Linked DNA regions of Homo sapiens: region 1 is linked to region 2. Evidence: promoter capture Hi-C in human tissues and cell types (Jung and others, 2019). All regions are on one chromosome and are shown on one strand. The core of a region is centred on a gene start or on the middle of the fragment in contact, and the rest is flanking DNA. Distances in the headings are between cores, read along the strand shown. Region 1 overlaps LOC105369896 (a long non-coding RNA gene). Region 2 holds the start of NUDT4 (nudix hydrolase 4).

What was found. Contacts are between HindIII fragments. The study calls those that stand out against the background at their distance.
Region 1: a fragment that was not itself captured here is called in contact with the fragment with the promoter of NUDT4 in region 2 in 1 of the 25 tissues and cell types used here (dorsolateral prefrontal cortex).

Annotation. Positions count from the first base shown.
Region 1 is chr12:91,573,561-91,577,833 of GRCh38, reverse strand. The region is part of intron 1 of LOC105369896 (a long non-coding RNA gene); the gene reads left to right. Among named protein-coding and RNA genes, the nearest start is that of LINC02823, 250 kb to the right of the region's middle. The HindIII fragment of the contact is 3,773 bases long and covers 468-4,240 here.
Region 2 is chr12:93,376,505-93,380,865 of GRCh38, reverse strand. NUDT4 (nudix hydrolase 4) reads right to left here and starts at 2,941. Exons shown (of 5, transcript NM_019094.6): 1 at 2,445-2,941. The coding sequence starts at 2,543. LOC643339 (a long non-coding RNA gene) reads left to right here and starts at 3,130. Exons shown (of 5, transcript NR_040096.1): 1 at 3,130-3,429. RefSeq lists silencers at 2,310-2,609, 2,830-3,169 and an enhancer at 2,406-3,345. The HindIII fragment of the contact is 9,866 bases long and covers 1-4,361 here.

The DNA of each region.
Region 1 (4,273 bases), core at 1,105-3,604, 1.8 Mb after region 2:
ACCCTCGTGAAGAGCAGTACTGAAATGGTTAGAGTTTCAGTTTCTAATATAATGAGCGGTGTGTGTTTGTGACTCTAAAAGTCTAATTATTGTGTTCTGGGATATCCACATTACATCTGCTAGGCAGTCTTTGAGGACACTGGAGGCCATTTAATGTTGTATAAATTAAGTATCACAATAAAAAGTGGTCCAGTAACCTGCAGATATGACAGTCAAATATTAGAATTGGTACAAAAATATTTATGGACATTCACCTGAAGATGAGCATAGGAAAGGGCTCCTTATCTTGCTTTCAAGAGACATGAATGATTTGATTTGCGAAAGCTGCCTAATCATTCAGAGCCTATTTTCTCTATCAGTAAATAGGAATAATTATATCACCTTTTAGTAGTATGAAGACCAAGTAAAATCTAGAAAATGCTTAATATGTGACTGACTTGGAGTAAATTATTTTCTCTTCTATTGTAATAAAAATTCTCTGGTTGGAGCTAAGAAGTGAAAATATAAAAATTAGCAAAACCTTTCGGGAGATTCCCCTCATTTCTTGATTTATTTTCTTATATGTTCTGTACTTCCAATTTCAGAGTCATGGCATGATTTTATCTTCAAAATGTTGTTACAGGACTCTTGCAGAAATGCCAGTCGTAGGTGGACAGTCTGGAAAAAGAAATCCATGATTCTGTTTCTTAGTGTGAGACTGTGGGGCTTTATTTCTTTTTGGTGGGACATAGAAAGGGAGAAATAGGTAGTCATTTATGTTTTGATTTAGAAGTTCAGCATATAAAGTTTCAAAAAGAAAGATGCTATAGAATATAATAATATATTTCTATTTGTATTTTAAAAGCCTAAAAATTATTTATGAAACTATTTGCAGGAAGTTGGGATTAGGCAGAAGTTTGGAAAACTTTTTCTTTCTCTGTACGGTTTACATAAAAATATTTTCATGAAGAATATACATGATAAAATTTCTTAAGGTGAAAGGTAAATCTTCCATTTCTGAACTCCAGTACCTTAATTTCCCTCTCAAAGACACCCACAGTTTATAGTTCATCATTTTTGTAAGATTTTGCTAGGCAATATATACATACATATATATATATATATAAAAATATAAAATGTTTGTTTTCAGTAGGTGTGTTCTATAGTCTTTGTGAACACTGAATTAGTCACTACTGTACCATTGCTCCTATGGGAAATACAGAGTTAGGTTTCTGAAAGCCTTTGGTCACAACAGTGTCATCATCTGATCTATACGTAACTTTGTTTTGTGTGTTTTTGTGTATGAAGGCATCTTATTTATGATTCATTAACATTAAACTCACAGCCACTATAGCTCATACCCAAACAAAGTTTATCACATATATTTTCACCATAAGGCACATTACAGTCTTCTTGTGCTTAGGAACAGTAGACAGCACTTCAACACTATGCTTGGGGGAAATTTTAAACAGTAAAATCACCAGCAAAAAAGCACAAAAATGAGAAACATTTGGCACTAAATAGACCATGAAAAGGACACTTGTTTATAGTATGGAAGCTGAAATAAGAGGGCAGAGCATTGCCTTCTTTAACCTAGAAAGTTCTGCAAGTATTGATTTTGGAGTTATTAATACAAATATATCTTAGCAAGTAGAAGAACCCATGAATAATGAGGATCAACTGTATATATATGTATGTATTTATATGTATGTGTGTATGTATATGTATATTCTTTTAATCATACACTAGCAATATATTACACGCACTGTTCTGACAGTTGCTTTACAGTATTACTCAGCAGACTCTGAAGTCAGACTGTGGGATCAAAACCTGTCATTACCCTTTGCTAGCTGTGTTACCTTGGGCAGGTTACCTAACTTTTCTGTGCTTCTCTTTACTCTTCTATAATATGGGACTTATAAGGGTATTTACTTAATGGAGTTGTCGTGAGGATCAAATTATTTGATACACAAAAAGCATTTAGAATATATCTGACACATCATAGACATTATGTATTTGCTGCATCATCATTTAAGATATTTGGATAATATTCCTTATTGACCTATATAGCAGGTTCTCACTCTTTTTGAAAACAACATTGTGTTACATCATATGGATACATCATAATTTTTAAACCTGGTGCCCACAGAGGGCATTTATATAGCTTTGTATCTTTTGCTTCAATGAGAATCATCTAACACATTTTCATGTACACGTGGAAATCAACCTGTAGGCAAAGGGGTTGTGCAGTTTTAATTGTATATATATTACCACATTTCCCACAGATTTATTATAATAATCATGTATAATTTAAAAAGCTATTTACTTTCAATAAAAAGAGAGAAAAGAATGACTCTTAGCTTTTATCTTTTGCTCAAATGCAGATTTTTTAATGCAATAAATTGAATAAATAATCACATTTACCATGTAAATGATTACAGTGACATTTAATGCCACCCATTTTTTAGGTCTATTAAACACCAAAAAGTTTGCAAATATTTTGCAGACTTTACATAAATTATATTGCCAGTCTAGAATATTCTATCAGTCCAGTAAGAATATACCATCTCAGTTAAGTAGGAGTACACCTATCATTTCCTCTACTTGATACTTCTCTTTATGTTAGTAACTCCCCAATAATTTCACTTATTACATTGTGTAAAAAATGAAATCGAAAGCAGAATAGCTGATATACCCTCTGCTTTAAAGGCACTAGTATTAGCTGTAGAAGCTTGAGAAAAACACAAATCTTGCTCAAAAAGGATTATTTTTAATACAAAGAGCACTAATAACTTCCACAAATTAACTATGACATTAAGTAGTCTTCCGGCTTCTTCAATATTTCCACCTTGCTGGCGTTTGCTCGCCTTCCAAATCACTGAAGGAGAGGCATGATTGAGCTTTTGCTTCCTTTCACAACTTTTTCAGAGCAGATTATGTTTCACTTCTTTTATTTCCTTAATTGTTTCTTTCGGAACATTCATTAATCTCTTTACAGGCAATCACAAAGGTATCAGGAATTCTGATTATGGGCTGTGGTGACAATAACCACAAAGGACTGAGCTGAGGTACATTTTCAACAAGGGGAGGATGTCTTTGGAAGCTCTCTATGGGATTGAAAAAAGGTTCTAGAAAATAGCGTGAGTCACTCTTATTAAGGGAGTCAGGGAGGAGAACAGCTGTGCAAAATTAGTACCAGTATCTTCCTACCTTTCATTTTAAACTTTTCAAAAGATTTTTTCTGGTCAGTTCCTCCTGAGAAGGGCAACCTAATCAGACATAATCTTTGCTTTTAGAGGTTACCATGGTGACTGGCCAGGACACACTGTCTTCTCTGGACATCATAAACACACATTTTCTATGGTGCTGAATAAGCCTGTATACCATCAGAGTCTTTCTTTGATTGATAAAACAAATAGGGAACATTGAAATGGTTCACAGCAATCAGAAATGATATTTTCCCATATTGATTTTTTTTTCTTTCTTTTTGCCCTTTCTCTATCTGTGCCATGTCTCTTTGAAGTATACATCAAGGCACAATACTTATTGTAGGAAGCAAAATCAAGTGAATCTTTTTTTTTTTTCATGTGGACCAAGATAGTCAAAGATTTTCCTTACCACTTATGTTCTGCCAAGTGAAAGACAATTTCACTTACCCAGGTTGACAGACAACAGAGACTCATACACAATCAGAAGATAGTACTGTGACTAGGTGAGTGTGAGAGCAATCACTAATTTGTGAGAAGTGGGGCAGAGAGAACAGTGCATACTAATTTTTTAGCTTCTTGAACAGACTTTATTTTTTAGAGAAGTTTTAGTTTCATAGCAAAATTAAGTAGAAAGTACAGAGTTCCCTTGTACCCCTTTCCGCTACAGCCTCCCGAACCATCAGCATCCCCCACCAGAGTATTATTACATTTGCTACAATTAGTAAGCCTGCATTAATACATCATGATCACCCAAAGTCCATAGTTTACATTAGGGTTCAAGCTTGGTGCATATTTTATGGGTTTGGACAAATGTATAATGACGTTTCTATCTTTGTAGTGTTATATAGAATAGTCTCACAGCCCTAAACATTGTCTATACTCTGTGTATTCATTGCATCCTCCCACCCTAACCTCTGCAAGCACTGATTTTTTTTTCTTTTTTTTTTTTTTTATTGTCTCCATAGTTTTGTCTTTCCAGAATGTCACAGAGCTGGGATCATACAGTATGTAGACTTTTCAGATTGGCTTCTTTCACTTTGTAATATACATTTAAGGTTTTCATATTTTTAAAGGAAATCTCATGT
Region 2 (4,361 bases), core at 1,692-4,191:
TAGAGGGAAACATTTCTCACCTATTAACTAGAGAGGTGGGCTCAAGCTGGTTTTCTAGACTGTCCTGGGAAGTCTGGCAATGCAATTTCAACAGAGTGAAGGCAAATTCATAGAGAAACAATAGAATCTCCAGGAAAGCTAACAGAGTTTATTCTGTAATAATCATGTAATAGATAAAGCCTCAACTACACACAATCACAGAAATGAAAATTCTGAAGAGCTAAACCAGATGTTAAAATTGGCTGTGCATTTCACTTAAGGAGAATTCTAGAGTCTTCCCTCAGATCATATCCTCTAACAAGATGACTCACTCTCTTCAATTCTCAACCTACAGGTTATCAGATTTACAAAGTTTTATACAATGGATTTTTCTAATACATTCTCCAAAACTTGCTCCCTACTTCACCTTACCTAATGACACGGGTCTCTTGACTCAACTAGAGGCTATGAATTTAGTATTTATTTCAGTAGAAATAATATCCAAGCATAAAAATAATCATTTATTTTTATTGCTAAAGTAATTCCTAAAGCTTCTATCAGTCTTTGCTTTACCATAAGCACAATAGAGATCATCATTTCAATTTCCATCACTCATATTTTCCCCTAGAGTCTAGTATTTTTACAAAGCCTGAATTCCAAGTTCACATTATGGCAACACTTCAGTCACCACTTTCAGATAGGCTTCCAAACTTAGCCTCACAAAAATCTCACTCACTCAACAAACAGAGCCCAACATCAGGAGTAAGGACTGGACCCTGAATCCTGACTCTACCACTTCCTAATTGTGTCATTTGGGAAGGTACTTATGCTCTGCAACTGTCTCCTCACCTATAAAATGGGAGTAACTTCACTACCTCCCAGTGTTAAAAGGATTAAATGTATAACAAGTTTTCTTCTGGCAGCGCCTGGCACATTGTAAGCACTCAATTAAGAATATCATTACACAATATTGAGGAAACCAGACAAGATCCTTGATCTATCTTGATCCCTTTTGGCTATCATTTCTTTTATATTTAAAGTTTACTACTTTGCCTCAACATGGCCCCTTTCCGCTAAGGCTTTATCTTTTTTACAGAACACACTTAATGCTTGTTGACTTGTTCATTTTGTAAAAGTTAATAACCTTTCCCTTTGCAGTTTCTAGCTCTCCTAAGCAGACCCATCTCAAAGGCTGGGGCCGTATTTCTCTGCACACTCGTTTGGGATTCAAGTCTAATACGTAAAGGTTATGAGTGAGCACAGAGCAACCCATTTAAAGGGCTTGGTTTCTTTTCAAAAAAAAATAAAGGCAAAACAAGGGTTTGAAGGGCAAATTTCGAGAACTTTTCGTTAACATAACAAGAACTAAGCCACTGAGTGTATTCTGTGTCATATTCATCACAACTACAGGGACTAGCAGTAAGGAAGCCATTAAATTCCCATCTCCAGCCTTAGCCTAGTATTTTATACACGGTTGGTTATGAAAGCAGAACTCAGAATGTTAATTTTTTTCACCTATGTAATTTATCTTAAGAGTGGCAATACCAAAAGGCTACTATTGCCCTAAGCAAACTTCAACAGTTAGCCATTTTAAATAAATACTACTGAATTAAGTAAAAATCGCTCTCCAGGGAAACCCCAAGGGTCTCATTCTCAGCCCAATGCAGATGGGTAAATTATCCAAGAACGACTGCTCTGAGAACGAGAAAGGCTACTCCTTTCCAGATGTCAAGCCAGACAGCAAAGAACCCTTTATACATAAGCTGAGAGCTGGAGATTACTGTCTGAAAATGGCAGCTTTGCCCATCTCTAGTCCATCGTCTCCCTTTTGGCATTATTCCACATTTTTCACTAACCATTTTTCTGCAGTCAGAAAACTTTAAGAAGGGAAGGCCGTTTTAAAAATGAGGCATAATTATGCCAACAGCTTGCGGGTTCATGGACCCACAAGAATTGCCAAGACTAGACTCAATTCCAAGCACGAGGACTGTCTGTTACTCCACAAACATGCTTAGATCGAATCCGAGACCGCAAACGGCTGTAACATGGAAGGAAAATATGTAAAAGAGGCACAAGGGCTCTGCTGCAACACTCACGCCATTTCCACCCTCCTCTCGCTGAGCACTCGAGGTTTATCCGGCTTTCAACTCAATTCGCACGTTAAGATGGTGACTCCCGCTAGGCGAGACTTACGCGGCCCGGGACCTTCCCGGGGACCAGGCGCCTTCTCGAGTGCCCAGATGGAGAAACTGGGGCTGGGCGAGCCCCCTTTGTCTCATCTATCAGCCCAGAGAAAGGAAGGAAGAAGTGAGGGAGGAAAGGAGTGAGGGAGGAAAGGAGGGAGGGAGGAAGGGGGCTAATCCCTCCCAGCCCCGCAGCCTGCGCAGGGGCGGGGAGCGAGGGGAAGCACCCGGGCCCTAGACCCCGGCGCCCCGGAGGGCAGCGTGCGGCGCCGGGCGCCCTACCTCGTCCTCCTGCTCGCTCCGGAAGCACAGGCACGCCGCCCGCTTCTTGAAGCCCTCGCGGTCGTAGGTCCGCGTCTGGTTGGGCTTGAACTTCATCATAGAGGCGGGCTCCTGCTGCTGCTGCTGCTGCTCCGGCCGCCGCCGTGGGGGCCCGGCCGCCGCCACCCCGCCGGGGAGTGGGGGCGAGGGCGAGTCGGGCGCAGGAGCGCCCGGGAGCGCTAGTCGGTGCGGGAGGTGCGGCGAGGCCGGTCAGTCCCGGGGCCGGCGGCCGCTCCGACGCGGGCGGGACGGGACGCTAGCGCGGGTCACTGGAACCAGGGTGCCGAGATGAAAGCTCCGCCTCTGCCCAGTTGTCCGCCGCTCTCCATGGAGCCCGACTCCCGCTCGCCTCCGCTCCCTCCGGCCGTAGCCGCCAGGGGAAGGGCGGCTAGAGGCGCGCGCCACGCGGAGACAGTTGCGAAGACCCGCTCCCACTGAGCAGCAGCACCGCGGCGACCGCGCGCCGCCCCCTCTGCTCTGTTTAAATGAAGCCCACATGCGCCCCGCCTCCCCCGCGCGCCACTGCGCCTGCGTGCAGAGACCATTGCAATGGGGTGGGTGGGTAGGTGTGGCGGGGGAGGTAGGGGCGGGACCTCGGCCGCCCGGTGGGCGGGGCCGCGCGCACTCCCGGGCTGGAGTTCGGCGAGGCCTTGGGACTGGCGCTGGAGCCCAGCGTGGGATGACCGTGCCCCGAAAACATGCCAGTGAATGGAAAGAAGCCAAGGTCCCCTCCCTCCCTGCTTATACCCTCAACTTTGCCAATGAGGACCCTAAATACCAGCTGCACTACAGGGGATGTAACTACATACACCGTCACCAAAGTTGCAGCCTGGCCAAGAAATGCCAGGGGACGTCGCGGCGATTGCAGACTCCGCGGTGACTGTGTAGATACGTCCAGAATTCGCCCTTGTAGCGCGGGGAGAGGCGAGAGTGAAGGCCTAGAAAAGTTAAGACGTTAACTGTTTTTTTTTTCTTTGTTTTCACAAATGGGGGGTAGGCAAATTTCCTTTTTTTTTTTTTGTATTTAAATTTTTAATCTTTGGTTGGGGATGGCTTGTATTATTTAAAGAGTCAACTCTAGCTTAAACGTTTCTTTGAAGCTGTCTATAACATCCCCCACTTTGTGCCACCTTCCGGAAAGTATTAATACTGGCAATGGCTAATAGTTGCGAAATGGTTTTCATGTGGATCTCATGCTAAGTAACAGCGCAGCTGGATGCTGGGGCCACAGCACTAAAATATAATGGGATTTCTGCTATCTGGGAGCTTACAGTACCTTGGGGACTTGGAACAAACAACCTCTACACTTCAGAGTGTTAGAAGGGCTAAGATAGGAGCCAGGAGGCCTGATCTTAAGGTAGCTCGAGAAACCCAAACTCAGGCCATTCTGCCCTTCCACAGAGGCCCAGGTTGCTTGGGTCCTGACTTGGTTGGTTGGTTTTTCACCCCTTGAGGGCCTATTGTGTGTCAGGCACTGGCATCTAACAAAACCAGTCAGCCCCTGCCTCTCCAGGAGCGTAGGCACCTGAGAGCACACCGTCAAATATTAAATGATCACACGTGTACACGTAAAACTACAAATGTAATGGGCTCTAAGGTTTCAGACAAAGATTTGACCAGATCTGCAGTCAGAAAAAGATTATTGGGGCAGCAAGGCAGGAGCTGAGGGCTGAAGGAGGAGGAGCTAAATTGACCAAGAGCTTTCAAGGCAAAGGGAACTGGGATTTCTGCAGAGCCCAAAGTGGGAGGGAGTGAGGAGAGTTCTCAGAAATGAAAGAAAAGGCCAGTGTGGCTGCAGAGCGGAGGCAAGCTGGTTCCGCCTCTGGCAGAGGGGCCTGTGAGGCCTGACTGAGAGGCTGGGGACCACTGGAGAGCTCA